3 separate regions of the Homo sapiens genome follow, and regions 1 and 3 are each linked to region 2. Evidence: promoter capture Hi-C in 16 types of primary human blood cells and fetal thymus (Javierre and others, 2016). All regions are on one chromosome and are shown on one strand. The core of a region is centred on a gene start or on the middle of the fragment in contact, and the rest is flanking DNA. Distances in the headings are between cores, read along the strand shown. Region 1 overlaps AXDND1 (axonemal dynein light chain domain containing 1). Region 2 holds the start of TOR3A (torsin family 3 member A). Region 3 overlaps RALGPS2 (Ral GEF with PH domain and SH3 binding motif 2).

What was found. The method cuts DNA at HindIII sites, captures the fragments that hold promoters and counts their contacts. A CHiCAGO score of 5 or more calls a contact.
Region 1: a fragment that was not itself captured here is called in contact with the fragment with the promoter of TOR3A in region 2 in 3 of 17 cell types (activated CD4 T cells, total CD4 T cells and naive CD8 T cells); the score reaches 5.9 in activated CD4 T cells.
Region 3: a contact is called between a fragment that was not itself captured here and the fragment with the promoter of TOR3A in region 2, in 1 of 17 cell types (erythroblasts). The highest score is 5.7, in erythroblasts.

What each region holds. Positions count from the first base shown.
Region 1 is chr1:179,394,420-179,398,552 of GRCh38, reverse strand. It overlaps AXDND1 (axonemal dynein light chain domain containing 1), which reads right to left. Exons shown (of 26, transcript NM_144696.6): 11 at 3,351-3,455. Among named protein-coding and RNA genes, the nearest start is that of AXDND1, 31 kb to the right of the region's middle. The HindIII fragment of the contact is 1,994 bases long and covers 1,311-3,304 here.
Region 2 is chr1:179,079,161-179,083,444 of GRCh38, reverse strand. It overlaps TOR3A (torsin family 3 member A), which reads right to left and starts at 1,375. Exons shown (of 6, transcript NM_022371.4): 1 at 1,058-1,375; 2 at 392-505. The coding sequence starts at 1,316. RefSeq lists silencers at 801-970, 1,111-1,400. The HindIII fragment of the contact is 9,470 bases long and covers 1-4,284 here.
Region 3 is chr1:178,782,877-178,786,788 of GRCh38, reverse strand. It overlaps RALGPS2 (Ral GEF with PH domain and SH3 binding motif 2), which reads right to left. Exons shown (of 20, transcript NM_152663.5): 3 at 2,267-2,371; 4 at 1,182-1,232. Among named protein-coding and RNA genes, the nearest start is that of RALGPS2-AS1, 59 kb to the right of the region's middle. The HindIII fragment of the contact is 1,246 bases long and covers 1,075-2,320 here.

The sequences.
Region 1 (4,133 bases), core at 1,058-3,557, 310 kb before region 2:
ACATGGAAGCAGGCACCCCAGCACCTGTTGCAGCCAATGAGAATGCACCCCCACAACATTGCCACTACTGCTGCTGCTGACACATGAAAACAAGGGCAGATCCCACTGCCACAGCACTATGAAAGGCTTTGGCTGACACCACCCAACAGAGTGTAGTGACCAGTGGTCCAGGAGCACCTCAGCTCCCCCCAGTGCAGTGGATTCCTAACCTCAAGGAGCAGAGAACAAAGCTGGTCCCAATACAAGTCCCCCAGAGTTGGAGTACACGGTCCAGGAGTTGGAAGCTGAGCGTTGGCCCCCTAGAATCTTCCAGAAATAAAGCCAGTTGGTTGAATCCATTTTATACCACAATCAAACTCTCGATGTCATCATATAGGATAAAAGGGGAAAAAAACACCCAAACATCAGCAACTTCAAAGATGAAACAAACATCAGCCCACAAATATGAGAAAAAAACAACACAAGGACTCTGACAACTCAAAAAGCCAGAGTGCCTTCTTTCCTCCAAATGATCGCACCACCTCTCCAGCAAGGGTTCTGAACTGGGCTGAGATGGCAGAAATGACACAAACAGAATTCATGCTATGGATAGGAATGAAGATCATTAAGATGCAGGAGTATGCTGAAACCCAATTCAAGGATGCTATGAATCACAATAAAATGATAAAGGAGCTGACAGACAAAATAGCCAGTATAAAAAAGACTGTAACTGGGCTGATAGAGCTGAAAAAATGTTCTACAATAACTTCATAATGCAATTACAAGTATTAATAGCAGAATAAACCAAGTTGAAGAAAGAATCTCAGAACTTGAAGACTGGTTTTCTGAAATAAGAGAGTCAGACAAGAATAGAGAAAAAAGAATAAAAAGGAATGAACAAAACCTTGGAGAAATGTGGGATTATGTAAAGATACCAAATCTATGACTCATTGATGTCCCTGAAAGAGATAGGGTGAGTGTAAGCAACTTGGAAAACATATTTTAGGGTATCATCCATGAGGATTTCCCCAACGTAGGTAGAGAGACCAACATTCAAATTCAGAAAATGCAGAAAACCCTAGTACAATACTTCACAAGAAGATCATCCTCAAGGCACATAATCATCAGATTCTCAAAAGTCAAAATAAAAGAAAAAAGGTTAAAGGCATCTAGAAAGAAAAGTCAGGTCACCTACAAAAGGAAGCCCATCAGACTAACAGTGGACCTCTCAGCAGAAACCCTACAAGCCGTAAGAGATTGGAAGCCAATATTCAACATTCTTTAAAAAAAGAAATTCCAACCCAGAATTTTATATATGTCCAAACTAAGCTTCATAAGTGAAGGGGAAATAAGATCCTTTATAGACAAGCAAGTGCTGAGAAAATTCATTACCACCAGATCTGCCTTAAAAGAGCTCCTGAAGGAAGCACTAAATATGGAAAGGAAAGACCATTACCAGCTGCTATTAAAAAACACATAAGTACACAGACCAGTGACACTATGAAGCAACCACACAAACAAGTCTGCATTATAACCAGCTAACATGATGACAGGATCAAATCTATATATATCTTTACTGGTTTACCTTAAATGTAAATGGGCTAAATGTCCTGATTAAAAGGCACAGAGTTGCAGGCTGGATAAAGAAACAAGACCCATTGGTATGCTATCTTCAAGAGACTCATCTCACATGCAATGACACCCATATGCTCAAAATAAAGGGATGGAGAAAAATCTACCAAGCAAATGGAAAAATCCATTCTGAGTGATTGATACATAAATTATACATTAATACATAAATTATAATTTAGTCATATGGTTAATATTATAGTGCAGAAATATTTGTTCTATATGCATCATAACGAGAAGATCTCAAAAGAATAGTATTTAGTTGGTAAAAGCAAGTTTTTTTTTTTTTGAGATGGAGTCTTGCTCTGTCGCCCAGGCTAGAGTGCTGGAGTGCAGTGGCGCAGTCTCGGCTCACTGCAACCTCCGCCTCCTGGGTTCAAGCAATTCTCCTGCCTCAGCCTCCCAAGTAGCTGGGACTACAGGTACGTGCCACCATGTCAGCTAATTTTTTGTATTTTTAGTAGAGACAGGGTTTCACCGTGTTGGCCAGGATGGTCTCGATCTCCTGACCTCATCATCCACCCACCTCGGCCTCCCAAAGTGCTGAGATTACAGGCGTGAGCCACTGTGCCCAGCCGCAAATTTTTTTATATGTAACTATGTATTATAGTAAAATATAAAAACATGGATAGGAAAGTTACATACCAACTATTGATTAGTGATTAACTCTGGGGAGGGAAGAAGCAGAATGGAGATATATAGAGATACAGACATAGATATAGATGTATTTTTTTAAATCTCCAAATATTTTTCTTTTTTTTTTTTTTTCTTTTTATGGGACAGAATCTCACTCTGTCACCCAGGCTGGAGTGCAGTGGCACAAACTCAGCTCACTGCAACCTCTGCCTCCTGGGTTCAAGCAATTCTCATGCCTCAGCCTTCCACGTAGCTAGGATTACAGGCAAGCACCTCCACCTCCAGCTAATTTTTGTATTTTTAGTAGAGATGGGGTTTTGCCATGTTGGCCAGGCTAGTCTCAAACTCTCAACCTCAGGTGATCCACCTGCCTCAGCCTCCCAAAGTGCTGGGATTACAGGCGTGAACCACCATGCCTGGCCTAAATCTCCAAATATTTCTATAAAATTTTGTTTCCTAAAAATGGGGTGTGAAACAAGTATGACATAATGGCTGACATTTGGTAATTCATGAAAGGTAAATGAGTACTCACTATAATGCTTTCTTTTTCTGAATGTCTGAAATATTTCATGACATAAAATTTCATTAAAAGCAACCATTATAAGAATATTTCATATTGTCATAGCACTGACTATATGCCAAGCACCATTCTAAGTGCTTTACTTATATTACTTCCTTTAATACTCGTAATAACCTATGAGGTAGGTAATATTATTATCCCAATTTTACATATGGGCAAACTTAGGCCCAGAAAAGTTAAGTGACTTCCCAAAGGTCACACAGCAAACAGTATGGTTCCAGAATCTATGTTATCTATGCTCACTGTTTCTTTACCCTTTCTTTTAGAAAACCAGAAAGTAATAGCCTGCAATCCTCACTCAATGAAAATGATTAATGCAGAAAGCAACGGTCTATCTCCAAGAGAAAAAATCATGTTTTACCTTCTTTGCACCCAGAATGAGAAATCAACTAAATTCAGATAAAGTAAGCTATCTATATGTGATTTTAGAATTCAAGAAGTTATAGTATCATATATATTATTTCAGAAGCTATATAAGCTTCTTCCTTTTCCCCTATGTAAGCTAAACAAACTTTAAGCAACTCACTTGGCATTCTTTTCCGCATTTAAAAGAGCTTGTGCCAAATCCTTGTGGGCTTTTTCTGTTTCCTTTGTTAATTTCACATCATGTGCCCGAACTAGACACAGTTCCCTGAAATAAAGCAAAGAAATTTTTAATTCATATTTGGAGATTTCCAAAAAGTTTCTACCAAGAAAATCAGATTTATATTCAGGAATCTTCTCAGTTATCATGTGTACCTCCCTTCCCAGTTTTTCCACCTTATAAACCAAATCAAGAAATTGAGTGTACATTCTAGATGGAATCTTGCCAGGTTTGGAAATGAAATCAGGCTGGCAGGAATCAGACAGAAATAAGATGTAGGGGAGATCCTTTAGAATGGAGGGAGGCAGATGCTGACATGCAAGGCCGCCATGCTGGTCTACCCTGCTTTCTGATATGACTATCCTATCTTCTTTATTCTCACCACTAACCATCTTGCTTCAAGGTTAAAAGTTAGATGATCACTAACTTTGATGGCTATATGATACTTATTCTCTTTGAGATGTTAACATCCATAATGTTAACATCCATAATTATGGCACTGTTCTATAAACCTGATTAAGGTAAACATCTGTATTTTATTTTATTTTATTTTTCTGAGACAGGGTCTCGCTCCGTCACCCAGGCTAGAGTGCAGTGGCATGATCTTGGCTCACTGCAACCTCCACCTCCCGGGTTCAAGTGATTCTCCTGCCTCAACCTCCCCAGTAGTTGGGATTATAGGCATGTGCCACCACGCCTGTCTAATTATTTGTATTTTTAGTAGAG
Region 2 (4,284 bases), core at 126-2,625:
CTCCAGTGTGGGTGACAGAGCAAGCCTCCGTCTCAAAAAAAAAAAAGAAAAGAAAGGGACACTTTTAATCACAACCCAGAATTTCTGATCAGTTCTCTCTGGATAGTTCCAGCCCCCTCTGAGAGGTAGCTGTTTCTGTTTAGAGTGAAACAAGGTGCTCTGGGCCTGACAAACAGCTCAGTTTGCCTGGGCTATTAAGCTAGAGGCTAAAAAGGGGCTTCCCTGACTCAAGCATTTGGTACTCCCTCAAAACTTCAGTCAGACTGTGGCAGTTCCTGCTTGTCGGGAGGCTGGGCAGGATGACGAAAGGTCCCTTGCATCTAACCATTTCCCCTGGACTGCCTCCCCTCCCCACAGATCCCTAGCCCCTTGAAGCCATGCGGGGTCCAACCTGTAAAGTTGTTGGAGATTCTGCAATCCCCTCTAGGGCAGCAGTCTTTGAAGCTGCAGTACCACGTGGTCAGGAGGTCCAGGTACCGCTGGCCCAACAGAGGAAGGCGCCAGCCTGGAAAAGGAGGAGCTGTGAGACCGAGAGGAGACCATCCGGTGCTCTACAGTGATGCGGCAACCTTGCCACACAACTTGTCAGGGACAGAGGGACACCCAGAACTCAGATTCTAACTCCCAGCCCCGACTCGGCCCACTGTCGGTCCTCAAGCCCTGCGTCCAAAAGCAGCAAGGGAGACGGCAGTCACCAGGCATGTCCACAGCGGACGTTCCCTAGAGCTGTCAAGAGCAACACCTTCGAATAACGCCAGGGTGGGCTGGGAGATGGCACAGGCGGTGCGAGAGAATCTGGAAAGCGCAGGGATCAGGGGAGGCGGGGGACGGGAAGCCGGGCGCCAGGGGGGTGCGCAGGGGACGCGGGTGGGGCAAGGGCGGTGATGGGGCTCCCTGCTCCGCGGAGGCTGCCCCCGCCCACAGCCGGTACCGGCGGCTGAGCAGAGCAGGACTGCGGGCCCAGATGTCGCCCCGGACAGGAGCGAGGCGACCACAGCCGCGCCCGGATCGCACTCTGCTCCGCAGCGAACGGCGGACCGTGGGGACGGGGTCTTACCCAGGGGCCCCGTGGCTGCCTCCTCGTCCTCGTCACAGTCGTCGGGCCACACCTGGCAGCTGAAGAGCGTCCAGTACCGCTTGGAGAGGGCACCCGCCGCCCTGAGCTGCTCCTGCAGGCGCTGGAAGCCCGGCCAGGCCCAGGCCGAGCCCGGCTCGTCGGTTCCCTCCCACGGCCTGGAGGCGCCGCGGGGCTCAGGCGCGCCCGGGAGCAGCAGCAGGAAAAAGAGCCAAAGCTGGCGCCACGGACCGCGAAGCATGGCCGGCCCCGAGCTGCGGGACCATCCGGCTGCCGGCCTAGCCAGGCTCCCTTAAGCCCGGGGCGGTCAGGCGGGGACCGCACTTCCTAGGCGGGCTTGAACCCGGGATTGGTGTTGCTGTGGCGACCGGCGGGCCGGGCTGAGTGCGCACTGGCAGCCTCCGTACACGTGACCCAGGCGGGAACCCGAAACCCTGTCTGGGGTCCTGAGAGGCAGTCCCGAGACTGACTTCAGGCCAGGTGCAACTAGCCGGCTTCCAGGAAGCAGTTTATTCTGGGTCGTGATTGTGGTTGCAAAGAAGGTGAACTCAGGCTTTGAAATGGCCACTGTCAATCACTCCGCTAGGACTTTCGGACGGCTCTGGTGGCCCATCAGAGGCCTACCGAATAAGGACACTCCTGCTTTGCCTCGCGTTTGCAGATCAACTTCCCGCCAACCTGTTAGAGGAAGCCGGAAAACCGTCTCAGTCAGGAGCGTTAGGCAGGCCAGGGGAGTCAGCTGAGTGGAGAAGAGGCCCTGGAAAGAAGGGCACAGCTAGGTGCCTGTCTGGCCAAGGTTGCCCTGGCTCCTCCGCAGAGGGAAATGAAACCGCAGCAAAACACCAGCAGGTTTCCACAGTGGGAGTCCACGAAAAGCAAGAGGAAGCTGATTGACGGGCTCCAGTCTGGAGGTGTTTGGAGTTTGGAAACCCCCCGAGTCATGGGTAAATCATGAGGCGTCATGTCAATGTAATTATATCTCATAAAAATCCGAAGTACTGTGTGCACTTTCTTGACTAGGTTTGCAACTTTCAAGTGCTGGGACTGAGCAGCCCATCCGACACCATTGGCAAAAGACTACAGGGCCTCTTTCCCTCAGCGCTCTCTTCTCCATAGCGAGGAGCATGGAACAAGGCTGTTAGATTTCAGAAGAGCTTAATGCATTGTTTAAAATCACCTGGCTTACTTCAGCCAAGCCAAAAAGCCGTCTTGTCTTAGGAGAAAACTGCTGTCTAGAGAGATCAGAGGACTTGGCTAATGTCATATGTTTAGTGGCTTTGAGGTTGGGCCCTCCAGACAGTAAGGTGAATACTAGCACCGTGTCTCACAAATGTCACAGGCAACTTGATTCATCTGTTCACCCCAGTCTCTTAGATCACACCGTGCCAGGTCTGCTCCATTCTCAGCAGCTCACCAAATTTGTGCCTTTCATTCGAACAGCTACAGAAACTAGATAAAGCACCTTTGCTAGGACACGAGGTTGAGTTGAAAAGTAAAATGTTTATAGTGTCTCAGCCATTCAGTGTGATGTCAAAAACTTTTCATAGAGTAGCAGCCATGGCACCAGCCCAGCACTGTGTACATCGAGCTTGCGGAGTCCACCGGAGACAGTTAACAGCACATACACCACAGTGCTTATTGGAAAACCAAAAAAAATTAGGCAGGGTGTGGTGGCTCACGCCTGTAATCCTAGCACTTTAGAAGGCCGAGGCGGGCGGATCACCTGAGATCAGGAGTTCGAGACCAGCCTGGCCAACATGGTGAAACCCAGTCTCTACTAAAAATCCAAAAATTAGCTGAGTGTGATGGTGCGCATCTGTAATCCCAGCTACTCAGGAGGCTGAGGCAGGAGAATGGCTTGAACCCAGGGGGCAGAGGTTGCAGTGAGCCAAGATGGTACCACTGCACTCCAGCCTGGGTGACAGAGCAGGGCTCCATCTCAAAAAAAAAAAAAAAAGAAAAAAGAGAAAAGAAAAAAAATTAACTCACTCAACAAATGTCGTTTGAGTCTGAATGGCAGTCTAATATAGTGATTACCATTTTCTATTTGTGCAACCATGGATGTTACTGAACCGTCCCATGCCTGTTTCCTCACCTATAAAAAGGGATAATAAAATAGTCCCCTCATAGGGCTGCTGTGAAGATTAAATGAGCTCATTCAATGAGCACATCATCAACACTCAATACGTGGCCAGTTTTATTTTTGTATCTACCCAGCCATGGAGGAGGCTCTGGGTGGTCTACACAGGAGGCAAGGATGGCTTTAGTTAATACTGGTGGTTTATAAGTGAATTTATGGTGAAAAAATTAATAGTAACAATAGTTTATTAAAACAATCCAAGTTTTAAGATGTTGTGGAAAGAATTATCTGTACTTGGAACTTTTATGTAGGGCTACCTGCTCATTTCTGAGATGTTCTGACTTGGATTTAGCATCCCATTGTAAATAAAGTAGGTTAGCTGGGAAGTTCTTCGACAACCAACTTGATTTCAAGACATTTTTATTATTTATTTATTTATTTATTTATTTATTTAGAGACGGAGTCTTGCTCTGTCGCCCAGGCTGGAGTGCAGTGGTGCAATCTCGGCTCACTGCAACCTCCGCCTCCCCGGTTCAAGCGATTCTTCCCCCTCAGCCTCCCAAGTAGCTGGGATTACAGGCGTTCACCACCACGCCCCCGCTTTTTTTTTTTTTTTGTATTTTTAGTAGAGACGGGGTTTCGCCATGTTGGCCAGGCTGGTCTCGAACTCCTGGCCTCAGGTGATCTGCCTGCCTGCCTTAGCCTCCCAAAGTGTTGGGATTACAGGCGTGAGCCACTGCGCCTGGCCGTTTTTTTCCAAAAAAAAAAAAAAAAGAGGTAAACACTTTTTCACCAAAGAGTCAGTCCCGTGTAGAAACAATAAATCCAAACACCAGTTTCTAGATACGTCTCTTGAGTATTTCAATAAATACTCCTTTCCGTCTCAGGCCTTGGAGGCTGTGCTCGTTTTAAAGTTCTGGAAGCAGTATCTCATGGATGACGGGGACATCTAGAGGCTGCTGGGAAAACTACAGACAACTATGATTCTTTAGCAAGCATTACGGTGCTACTCAAGGGCGGTTCCAGAACCCCACCACTGGCATCACCCAGGAGCTTGTTAGAAATGCAGAATCTCAGGCCCCAGACATACTGAATCAAAACCTGCACTTTAAGAAGGTCTTTCTGTGCA
Region 3 (3,912 bases), core at 448-2,947, 300 kb after region 2:
CACAATGAATACACTATATTTTGTTCCCGAAAGAACTAAAATTGTATCTATTTTGTAGTATTGAATTTCAGGATTATCAATGACTTTGTTTTGGAATACAAAATCACATTGATATACTAGATGAGAGGTTAAAAAAAATCAGATTTTAGAGTCTGAAACCCAGTTCCACCACTTAGTTGTGTACCAAAGACAATTGTCACTGTTTCCTCATCAGTAAAACAGAGATACTATCATACTCAGGATGTTAAAATGATAGGAACACTATACACACACACACCCCCATGCTTATAGTGGATAGATGCATAACGCCAGTCCCTTTGTTTTCATTAGAAACAAATGATGTGTTTCTTGATCCTTTCTCTCCTCTCCAAAATGTCAACGCAGTCATATTATTAAGTCATAAAATAAAGATATAAGGGAAAAGATTACTAGAGTTAGTGGTGAAACCCAGTTTCAAATTTCCATCTTCCCATTAAAAAGCTTCAAAGCAATAGGTAAATCATTCAACTTCCCTAAGTCTATTTCCTCCAGTAAGTAATGCAGCCAAATCAATCAAAATGATTCAAATACAGCTGACCTGTAAACAACACATGGGTCTACTTATACACGGATTTTCTTCCACCTCTACCACCCTTGAGATAGCAGAACAAATCTCCCTTCTTCCTCAGTCTACTCGATGTGAGGCTAATGAGGATAAAGACCTTTATGATGATCCGCTTCCCCTGAATGAATAGTAAATATTGTTTCTCTTCCTTATGATTTTCTTAGTAACATTTTTTCTCTAGTTTATTGTAAGAACCGAGTACAAAATACATATAACATACAAAATATGTGTTAGTTGATTGTTTATGTTACCAGTAAGGCTTTTGGTCAACATCAGGCTATTTGAAGTTAAGTTTGCAGGGAATCAAAAGTTATAGAAAGAGTTTTCACTGAGCAAGTGTCAATGCTCCTAACCTCCGCTTTGTTCAGATGTCAAGTATAGTCCTATCTATGACTCAATAATGTATTGCTATGAATGCCACGTGGGTTTCTGAGGCCCAAACAGTATGTAGATAAGTTACAACACAAGCTTCAAACATTTTAAAATTAATATGAAGTATAATTTGACATTTCTAAAACACTTAATTTGAGATTGATCGTTTTCTATATTTAAAAGGAACATTCTCAAAACTACTTACATCTGGTTGAATAGCTTTAAATACTGGAACATCCATTAATGTTATCTGACCCTGAAATATAAAGTAAAAATGACAATTTCTTCTTTGGAATTCTATACCATAACATGTAACCTAAATTAAAATTATATTCTATACTAAAATATTACCAAATACTCAATTTTATAAGGGCTTATGGAAAACAAAATTTAGCCCCTGTACCATTAAATAGAATTATTTCTAATGATCTCATGTCTATTTATATTTTCTTGGAAGATAAATTGTGTAAAGTTAAAAAATAAAAATAATTTTAAAAATTTGGACAGTCACATTAAATTATAATCAAAAAATAAAAACCAGATTTATTAGTTCACATAGCAGTGTTCTTGTTATGATGATTACAGCTCCTCAAACAGTGGTATAAAATCAGATATTACTAAAAAGGTTTTCTTCCTAACTTATAAAAAAATAATGAAACTACACTAAAGCCAACATTATATCTAAGAGCTTTATATGCTATGGACCTATCCCACTTATGGCTATAGATATAAGACAAAAGTCAACACTATCAAGGAATAATATGCTATGACCAAGCACAGTTTATCTCTGGAATGCAGGAATGGTTTAACATTAGGAAATCAATATATTCTGTTAACAAATTAAAGGAGAATGAGAAAACAAATAAATTTATATTAAGAAATAAATGTTTTTCTAGATACCTTTCATCTAATAACACCTTCATATTTCATTTTTCAATTTTTTAATTAAAAAAACCAGTGAAAATGTTTCTTAGATATGTCAACAAAATACAGTTGGCTTAGAGAAATGGTATAGAGGGATGACAGCAATTACCATAATGGTAAATACATATTGCTACTTACCAAATTGAAGTGTAACTTATAAAGTTGCCCTAAAAAAAAATGTACAGCTTTTCTTACTTTTCCCACTTCATCCCTCTGTTTGCTCCACAGCTGTACTATTTTCCCCAATAATTCCCATATCCAGGTTTCTAAAAGCTGTCTCTTTTGCTGGACCTACAAATTCTAACTCAATAGCACCAATATGTAAATTATGTGCAAAACCGGAGAAGACAGAGGTAGGAGGCTTACCGCATATTCTTCTGGTGTAACCTTAAGAACATCGAATACCACAGCATCAAAGCTTTTCTTCAATTCAGAGCCTTTGTCACTTAAGGATTCAGAGCTGCTACTTTTCTGTTAAAGTGAAAGAAAATGCAGCCTTTTACATACTGTCTCACAATCAAGTGATAGAAACTAGATTGGCCTTAAAAACTGAGAAAACAAAACAGTAGGTTAACAAATGCTGCAGAAAAGCTGAGCACAACATGCTGCTTAGTTGTTAGAGTACCAGATAAAGGGTCAGACAACTTGAAATCTAAAACTGTGACTTTAAATTTTTAGGTTCTTGAATGAGTCATTTTCTTGTGTGTCAGTTTCCTCATCCTGACAACCTATCATTTCCTATAGAAATAAATGATTTTAACTAGTTCAATGATTCTCAAATAAGGTAAAGGGAAGTCAGGGGAGAAGGCTATACACTTACTTACAATTTTTTAAACTAATTTTTATTAAGAAAAAGACAAACTAGCTTTATAACAAGTTATCAGAAAATATTCAGAATGCTGTTAATTAAAGAGTTACATATAATCCATTCTTAGTTATGTGATCTGTTTGTGATAGTACAATTAATACTATTCTTCCTATTATATTACAAATTTAAGTTTTCCCTGCTTAAAAATTACTGTTTCAAGTTTGAATATGTTGTGGCTATACATAGAATGAAAGGTGGATTTTGGCCCTGAAAATCTTATTACTGTTAAAAATTTTCCACTTCGTCTGTGCCATGACATAATAATATATTCTGTATCAGCTGGCTAAATTCAGAGGAACATCAATATGAGAATATTTAGATCAGGCTCTATTAAATGGTGGTAGGATATGAGGCTACAGATAACAGCAAAAAAATTAATCAAAGTTTCAATTAGCACAGTACACACAGATCAACCCACCAGCTATTATGTATTAGTTTTAAGCACTTGTCATTATGCCTCATTTTTGCTTTTCCTCCCTTTTAGTAGCAGCTAAATACGAAGTATCGAGCCACGATCATTACAAAGAAAGGGATCTGTCCTTAACTTTAAAAAATTCTCAACTATTATTACTTCAAATATTTCTTCTGCTTCTTTCTCTTGTCTTTCTGGTGTTCCCATTATGCATATGCTACACCTTTTGTCACTGTCCTACAGTCCTGGGCTATTCTGGATTTTTTTTTTCATTCTATTTTCTCTTTGCATTTCAGTTTGGGAAGTTTTACTGACAAGTCTTCCAGTTCACTGATTCTTTCCTTGGCTGTCTATTGGTCACCAGTCTACTGGTACTGGTTAGCTCACCAAAGGCATTCTTCGTTTTTGTCACAGTGCTTTTGAATCCTAGCATTTCTTTTCAATTCTTAATAGTTTTAATATCCCTGCCTATATTATCCATTTGTTCTCGCATGCTGTACGCTTTTTTTCATTAGAGACTTTGGCATATTAATGACAGTTAATTTTAACTCCCAGTCTGATAATTGTGAAATCTCTGCCTCATGAGTGTGGTTCTGTTGCTTGATGTATCTCTTCAAATTGTGTTTTTTCCTTGCCTTTTAGCATGGCTTGTAATTTTTTGTTGAAAGCTAGAAATGGTATATTGGGTAATAGGAACTCAGGTTGAATAGGCCTTTACTGTAAGGGTTTATT